Linked DNA regions of Homo sapiens: regions 2 and 3 are each linked to region 1. Evidence: promoter capture Hi-C in 16 types of primary human blood cells and fetal thymus (Javierre and others, 2016). All regions are on one chromosome and are shown on one strand. Each heading gives the region's core, a stretch centred on a gene start or on the middle of the fragment in contact. The rest is flanking DNA. Distances are from core to core; before and after follow the strand shown.

The links. Contacts are between HindIII fragments. The CHiCAGO score rates a contact against its expected background, and 5 or more counts as called.
Region 2: a contact is called between a fragment that was not itself captured here and the fragment with the promoter of MED31 in region 1, in 1 of 17 cell types (fetal thymus). The highest score is 5.7, in fetal thymus.
Region 3: a fragment that was not itself captured here is called in contact with the fragment with the promoter of MED31 in region 1 in 1 of 17 cell types (erythroblasts); the score reaches 5.8 in erythroblasts.

The regions. Positions count from the first base shown.
Region 1 is chr17:6,650,288-6,652,879 of GRCh38, reverse strand. MED31 (mediator complex subunit 31) reads left to right here and starts at 1,275. Exons shown (of 4, transcript NM_016060.3): 1 at 1,275-1,379; 2 at 2,447-2,524. The coding sequence starts at 1,352. C17orf100 (chromosome 17 open reading frame 100) reads right to left here and starts at 1,118. Exons shown (of 1, transcript NM_001105520.2): 1 at 1-1,118. The coding sequence starts at 966. The coding sequence ends at 610. RefSeq lists silencers at 751-800, 1,101-1,180 and enhancers at 1,431-1,560, 1,631-1,710, 1,801-1,860. The HindIII fragment of the contact is 11,591 bases long and covers 1-2,592 here.
Region 2 is chr17:7,037,259-7,039,850 of GRCh38, reverse strand. SLC16A13 (solute carrier family 16 member 13) reads right to left here. Exons shown (of 4, transcript NM_201566.3): 3 at 962-1,699; 4 at 1-88. Among named protein-coding and RNA genes, the nearest start is that of SLC16A13, 2.5 kb to the right of the region's middle. The HindIII fragment of the contact is 1,491 bases long and covers 547-2,037 here.
Region 3 is chr17:6,912,231-6,914,822 of GRCh38, reverse strand. No RefSeq gene overlaps it. Among named protein-coding and RNA genes, the nearest start is that of TEKT1, 82 kb to the right of the region's middle. RefSeq lists an enhancer at 1-528. The HindIII fragment of the contact is 1,566 bases long and covers 503-2,068 here.

The sequences.
Region 1 (2,592 bases), core at 26-2,525:
TTCTAAGATTATTTTTGCTTGCTGGTGGGTTTACTGTCATTTTTAACCACATCTAACCTACCTTAAAAAAGTGTATGGATGGGGGTGCCAGGTACAAAGACTTAGCATAAAGAAAACGACCATTTACTTTGAAACATAAACAAAGGCCAATTAATAATTTATGAGTCTGTTCCTTGTCCCTCGAGTTTTTAGCAGGCATGGAATCATTCCACAGGTCATTATTTCAGTTTGGTCTCTGTTCCTAAGGGGTGAAGGTTTTCTGAGGGCTGTGGATCCCAAACTCACCTGGCTCAGAGGCTCAAACAGCCTCTCTTTGTCCATCAACCCGATTTAGACAGCATCCTGGGCCTGAAAACCTTCTGTGCTGGCTTCAAGTGAAAATAGTTCACTGGGTCAAAAGTAGGCTGGTCCAAGACGCAGGACGGTCAGTAAACGTTGGCTGTGTTCAGAAACTGCGGCTTGGCTGTTTCTTACATTGATTTATGGTTTGTTTCCATGAAACCGAAAATGATTGGTCCACCTGGCAGCTGGCTGGCTGGCTGGCAACTGGAGGCCTTTCTGTCCTGGCTGAGGGCCCTGGCCCCTTGGTGGCCTTTGGGAAGCAGCATCTCATCGGGCCGTTTTTTCGTTCTGGCGGGCGGCCGGCTTGGCCCGCGGGGTCGGGCTCTCCGCGCAGTGCAGAGACGTCTCCACCCTCAGGGACGAGGCTCTGACGTGGCGGGAGGTCGTTTCCGTGCGCTGCGAGGAGGATTCCACGTGCCGGGAGGACGCCTCGAGGATGCGAGGGAGCCGCTTCCCCGAGGGGGAGAGGGAGGGCCCCTCGCTGCGGCGCTGGGAGGTCTCCACCCGCCGGGACGACGTCTCCACGCGGTGGGACGAGGTCTCCACGCGGACCGTGGACGTCTCTGTGTAGCGGGTGGTCCCCACCCGGGGCGAAGACTGCTTGGCCCCTCGGGCTGAGGCCATTCTGCCGGCGTGAGGGGGCCAGGGAGGCCTCGGGGCACCCTACAGCCCAATGGTCACCGCAGGCAGAAGAGAGGAAAACTACGGTACTGCCATAGCCGGGAGCGCCACAACACGATGACGTGGAAGCACCATGGTCCTTCGAAGGCTAAAACACTGGACTCCTGCCCCTCAGGCGCTCCCACGGCCCGGGCCCCGCCCCCTCGCTATTTTGGAGCCAGCGCGGGTGGAGCCATCCCAGGGCTGGTCGGGGATGGGCGGAGCCGCCCCGCCCCATATCCCACAGTGCCCCGGGACCGGAAGAGGGAGCCGTGGTTTCCGGAACTTCGCCCGCGTCTCTGGGCTTTTGCTCTGTCAGGCTGGTGGCGTTTTGGTGTCTTCGTTTGTTATGGCCGCTGCTGTCGCTATGGAGACAGGTGAGTAGCTCTCTGATCTTGGAGTCTTCGCAGATGGAACTCTCCTTGACCCAGACCTCTTCCCCGTGGCCTCCTTCCAGGCCTTACTCTTGGCAGGGTTAATATTTGGACAGAGAGGAGAGAAGGCTCTTGTAGCGTCTAGAAAGACTAAGGTACTCTTTGCAGTTTTCCTGATTTGGTTTGTTCGCACATCTTTGCTATTCAGACACCACCCCACCAGCTCCCTGGCGTGGGTGAGACTAAGGGAGAGGACTTGTGTGTTAAACCGTGTCCTCCTTGATTGGTTTTCTGCTTCTCACATGAGCTTGCCTAAGTTTGAAATATCGTCGCCAGACTTGTGTATCATTCTGCTACTGGTGCTTCTTTTTTTTTTTTTTTTTGAGACAGCGTCTGGCTCTGTCGCCCAGGCTGGGGTGCAGTGGCGCGATCTCGGCTCACTGCAAGCTCCGCCTCCTGGGTTCACGCCATTCTCCTGCCTCAGCCTCTCAAGTAGCTGGGACTACAGGAGCCCGCCACCGCTCCCGGCTAATTTTTTTTGTATTTTTAGTAGAGACGGGGTTTCACTGTGTTAGCCAGGATGGTCTCGATCTCCTGACCCTGGTGCTTCTTATATGCATGCGCTGCATGATCTTTTAGGCTCTCCGCAGTCTCTTGCATCCTAAGTTTTTCTTTACTGATTCAGCCCCTAGCGTTTGCGAAACTTAATCACTGTTAACAGTTGTTACAACGCATTATTAAAATAGGGGAAGCCACAGTTATTACAGCCTACCTTAGTGATCACTGTTAAAATTCCTACATAGTGGCCCACGAGTGGTAGGAATTCTCCGTTTGTGTTGCTGTTTTCTTTGATGATTTCTCTTTAACTTTAGAGAAACTTCTAACTTACTCCTTTTAATCAGGGCTCCGCTTTTCTTAGATTTCGAAGGAAGGTTTATCTCCTCCCACTCCTAGTTTAGGAAGACCATCTCAACATTAGTCAGGTTTCTTTATTGCTCTTTCCTTACTACAAATCAGTATTATATACAGTGACCTTTGTTTTCCATGATTTTTGCTGTCTTGTCTCCTAGATGATGCTGGAAATCGACTTCGGTTTCAGTTGGAGTTGGAATTTGTGCAATGTTTAGCCAACCCAAATTACCTTAATTGTAAGTTGTTAAGCACCTCATTAAATTGAGTAGCTATTAATGATTTCTGACAGAAGAGTTGCAGTTCA
Region 2 (2,592 bases), core at 43-2,542, 390 kb before region 1:
GTGAGGAGAATGCCACTCCCTGAAAGAAGGAAGGCCCCAGCCACCACAAAAGAAGCCGTGTAGTTGCCTGTCACATCCCGGAGGTAGCCTAGGTCCAAGAGAGAAAAAGAATACACATGAGTGATCTATTTGCTGGGGCTGAGGGCTCAGATACATTTTTGGGTGGAGGGAAGACTTATCATCTCAGAGGAGTTGGAACTCCCATGGAATAGTTGGATAAACTTAAGAACTCTGGTTTCCCAAAAGGGCCTCAAAAGTTAATTTCAACCACCTCCCCGCCTTCAGAAAGGACCTCCAAACCAGCCTGCAGGGATTTGGAGATCCAGATTGAGTCAGGCATACTTGTGCCTTTCTTTCTGGCAACTGTGGCCTTTCTTTTTTTTTTTTTTTTGAGACGGAGTCTCGCTCTGTCGCCCAGGCTGAAGTGCAGTGGCGCGATCTCAGCTCACTGCAAGCTCCGCCTCCCGGGTTCATGCCATTCTCCTGCCTCAGCCTCCTGAGTAGCTGGGACTACAGGCGCCCACCAACTGTGGCCTTTCTAAAGCTTCAGTTAATGGGTAAGAGGAGATAAAGGTCTGAAAGTTCTGGCACCCTGAGCCAGCAGAACTTTGACCAGGTGCCTCAGATACCTGGTTTGGGGCCCAGTAGGCCAAAGGAAAGGGTGCACACTGGAATGCTACGTCTGTGTCTGGCCAGGTTCTGCCAGGTCCTCTGCAAACCCAAGCCGTAGGCACCCTGCCAAGGGTTCCACTTAGCTTCTTTTTGTCTTTCCACTCAGACTTTCCCAGCCCCAAGTTCTTTGCCCCATGGACCCATTTCAGGGATGCTATGGTTGGCCACGCAGGCTGTGTACTGTACTACACCAGAGGGCAATATTCACATACACTGTAATGAGAATAGTACCCTCCCCTAGTTGTGCAACATGGCAGCCCTCACCCCCTGGGAACCCCATTCCACTTACCTGAGAGAGGAGGCCCCAGCAGCCCCCCGATGCTCTCTATCATCTGCAACAGTCCCAGGCCACAGTAAATCCTTCTAGTCCCTATTAGTTCAGGCAGCACGGAGAAGGCCAGTGGGGCCAGAGCCCCTGATGTGAAGCCGTAGGCCACAGCCAGAGCCACCAGGGCTGTGGGAGCCTGAGCTACAGGGAACAGGGCTAGTGACACCCCAGTCAAGGTGGTCCAGAGCATCAGGAGTCGTGTCACAGGCCCTGGGACTGCATCTCCCAGCCATCCGGAGACCACACGCCCCACGAGGTCAGAAATAGCAACAACTGAGAGTAGGAAGGCAGCAGGTAGTGGGTCCCAATCCAGGTCCTGGAGATGGGCCACCAGGTGGAGGTAGGGAATGAAGTAGCCAGTGTTGATCAGGGTGAGGGCAACAGTGTAACGGAGGAAGGGGCCATGATGGAGGAGAGAGGTGAGTTGGGCCCTGGGACCACCCACAGCAGGGTCCTCAGCCAGGGAGGGTGGGCGGAGGAGAGCACCACAGGCCACTAGGTGGAGGGAGAGGGCAGACACCAGCAGCAGGGACCCCCTCCAGGCGTAGTGGCTGAGCAGCCACTGGAAAAAGGGGGCAAATGTGAAGGAGGAGAGGCCCACGCCTGTCAGTGCCAGCCCGGTGGCCAGGGATCGTCGGCGAGAGAAATAACAGGACAGGCAGGCCAGGGTCGGAGCGAAGGTCAAAGCCCAGCCAGAGCCTGTCAAAAAGGAAGAAGTGGTGTTGAGAACTCTTAGGGAGCTCAAGGCACACAGTAATCCCCGCATTGCCCAGCAGCAGAATGTAGCACTTGCTTCGGAGTCCCACAGACCTGGGATACAATCTTGGCTTGGATACTTCATAGCTGTGTAACCTTGTGTGTTTTACTTAACACCCCCAGCCTCAACCTTCTCAACTGCAAAATGTAATAATACACTTTTTGGGATTGTGGAAGATTAGAGACAAAGTTTGTAAGGTAACTAGCACAGAACTTTGGAGTTAGACCTGGGCTCTACCATTTCTAGCTGTGTGACCTTCATTTGCCAAGTTGTATAAGCTTTAAAGCTTTTCCCCAGCTGTAAATCCAATAATGATATCGATTTCACAGTCACAGTACCTAGCACCTTTTTTTTTCTTTTTTTTTTTTGAGACGGAGTCTCGCTCTGTCGCCCAGGCTGGAGTGCAGTGGTGCAATCTCGGCTCACTGCAAGCTCTGCTTCCCGGGTTCACACCATTCTCCTGCCTCAGCCTCCCGAGTAGCTGGGACTACAGTCACCTGCCACCACGCCCAGCTAATTTTTTGTGTTTTTAGTAGAGACGTGATTTCACCGTGTTAGCCAGGATGGTCTTGATCTCCTGACCTCGTGATCCGCCCGCCTCGGCCTCCCAAAGTGCTGGGATTACAGGCGTGAGCCACCGTGCCTGGCCCCTAGCACCATTTTATAGTAATTCTTCCTTTTACACTCCAGTCCCATTAGCCCTGGGCTTCTGGGCTTGTATACTTGGTTTCATCTTTTTTTTTTTTTTTTTTGAGACAGAATCTTGCTCTGTCGCCCAGGCTGGAGTGCAGTGGTGCGATCTTGGCTCACTGCAACCTCCGCCTCCCGGGTTCAA
Region 3 (2,592 bases), core at 36-2,535, 260 kb before region 1:
GGACTGTGCTGGTTGGCCTCCAGCCAGGAGGTGGTGCTTGCAAATGAACACCGGCTGCGGTAGGTGGGTGTGTGGGGGGGGGGGGGGGGGAGGGGCGTGGTGGTGGGGGCGTGGAGGGAGGAATACTCTGGTTTCACAGGCAATAGTCAGGGCCACAGAGCTCTCAAGAGATTCTGTCCTTTGTGTTAAGCTACCAGGGCAAGTGGCGGGGCAAAGCGAGATGGGGGCTGCGTCGGTCAGGTTTGTGCTCTGATTCTCCGTGTGCAGGGCAAGCAGCAGCTCCTGTGAATGTTGGGGGATGGAGTGGGTCTCAGGCCACTGGGTTGATGTTCTTCTGCCCCCGCTGCGCAGAAGAGTTTGTGCAGAGTGGGGAGTAGCAGGCAGCGGTGAGCCCCCAATTCCCATGCACTCAGTGAGGCAGATCTACTACCACAGCTTCCACTGGCAGCGGCGAGCTGAATTCCAGCCAGTCTGTAATCGGAACTTGCCACAGTTATAAGCTTTCCCCACGGGAGATCGCAATTGTGGTTTTCACGCCACACCCTTCCCTGTCCTGCAAAGCCGGCACCCGAGGTTCCTGCACCCGCGGCTTCCGCACTCACGGCCCCCTGCACTCGCAGCCCACTTTTCACTCTCCCACGCCTGGCCCTGGCCAAGGGAGTTGGTCCCCACCCAAGGTTATGTATATATATCATGAAACCCCTCGGGAGCTTCGTTCAACCTGCGACCGCCGTCTAAACTTTTTGCCTGTCCTCCACGGGGGTCCCCTGTGAGGAACAGTAAGGAACGGCTGCCCTCCTGTGTTGGGATTTGGGAGTGCACGCAAGTGTCTTCTGCCACTGCTCCTATTTTTATATTCCGCCACCCTCCCCGAGTTGGTCCCTTTGCTGGGTGGGGTTAGGGCCTTCCTCCGTGTCCTGTACTTTCAGGGTCCCTGGTGGGGGTGTGTATCCCAGAGGCAAAAACTCTTCCCCTCTCACACTCTGGGACTCACAGTCCTTCACCTGACTCACAGTGTAGACTGCAGCCTCCTGCGTCCTTCAAAGCGTCCCTGGGTTTTCCTGTTCAATGACTGCATCGCCTCTTGAAAAAAGTTCACAAAGTGAATGTCTCTACACTATTTTGTCCTTCCACGTGGGAGAGGCGTGCCAGCAATGCCTCTCATCCGCCATCTTGACAGAAACAGTTAAAAAACCTTATTGCATTTTTCAGTTCTGAAATGTTCATTTGGTTCTCCTTTATATTTTTCTATTTAGTTCCTGAGGTCTTCTACCTTTTCAACAGTGTTTGCCCCGACTTGGAGTATTTTATAACTTCTCTTCATAGTCATCTATGTCTCTTCCCATGTGAACTGAGATTTTCCTGTCTTCTTATGATGAGCAATTTTGGATTGTATCCTAATATTTTGAATGGTATGTTATGAGACAATCTTGTTTATGTCCTGTGGAGAATGCTGGTATTTTTCTGAAGCATTGACCTGGTTGAGTTCAGCCCACGAGTTCGAATGAGTCTTCCGCGGTGGTTTCAATTCTAGTTCTGTTTTCCAGGCCTTTGCAATGCTATTTGGATCTAGCCCATGCATGTGCCACCCAGTTAGGAACCTGGATGGGACCCTATCTCTGAATTCAGCTCTCAGTCTTTAGTAGTTTGGTCCGTGATCTAATCTCTGTTTGTGCAGTTTAGGAATGAGCCCCTGAGCTTATAAACAATATTTTGGGGTTTCCTTCCTGAGCTCCTCTCTCCCTGTGATCTCCTCTGTGCTTTTCAGTTTCCTGGCATTTTCCTTTTTGGTCCTTCAGCCAGAAATTTAGGGCCTAATTTAGCCTACCTTGCTGTACACTTCTTGCATCTGTGCCCTCATTCGGGGTCAAGTGATAAGAGGAAAGAGAGAGGAAAAAAAATCCACGGAGGTGTTCCCCGCGCTCTTGGGACCACACTTCTTCTGATTGGAGAGGAAGATTCCCCTTCTTCAGACTGCACGTGCTTATCGGCCCCCGCTGCTGTTGTCATTTCCAGGAGACCCCTTTATCACTCCCTTATCCCAGAACTGAGGGCTTTCCCTAAAGCTTGATCTGTCCATGCTGACTTGCACCTCTAGGTTTTAGGCTGCCTTGAAGTCAGTCTAGGAGTTCTGCAGGGAAAATCTAGTAAGCTGATTACTAGTTTTCCTTCTGCTTTCACTCCAACCCCCGTGATACTGCTGCTTCACGCATTCTGCCCAGGTCTTCATTGTTACATTCAGTGGCAGAGAGGAACCAGCATATCTGCCTTTAAAAAAATACTACAAATTATAAAGCATGCTTGTTTCAACCTGACACTGTTGCTTTTGGTTTCTTTACATATTACCACGTTCTTGGCATCTCAGATAACTTTTATAGTATTATTTTTCCTTTTCTTTCTGAGCACATTACCAAAAGTTTTTGTGAGGCAGGTCTTTCTTTAGAAGTAAATTTTCTCATTAAAAAATGATTGAAACCATTTTTTTTAGAGTTCTGCTGAGTTCACATTTCTTGGTTGACCAATAATTTTTTTCAATACACCGAAGACCTGATTCTGTTATTTTCTGGCTTCCGTTGTTGTTGGGAGTTTTGT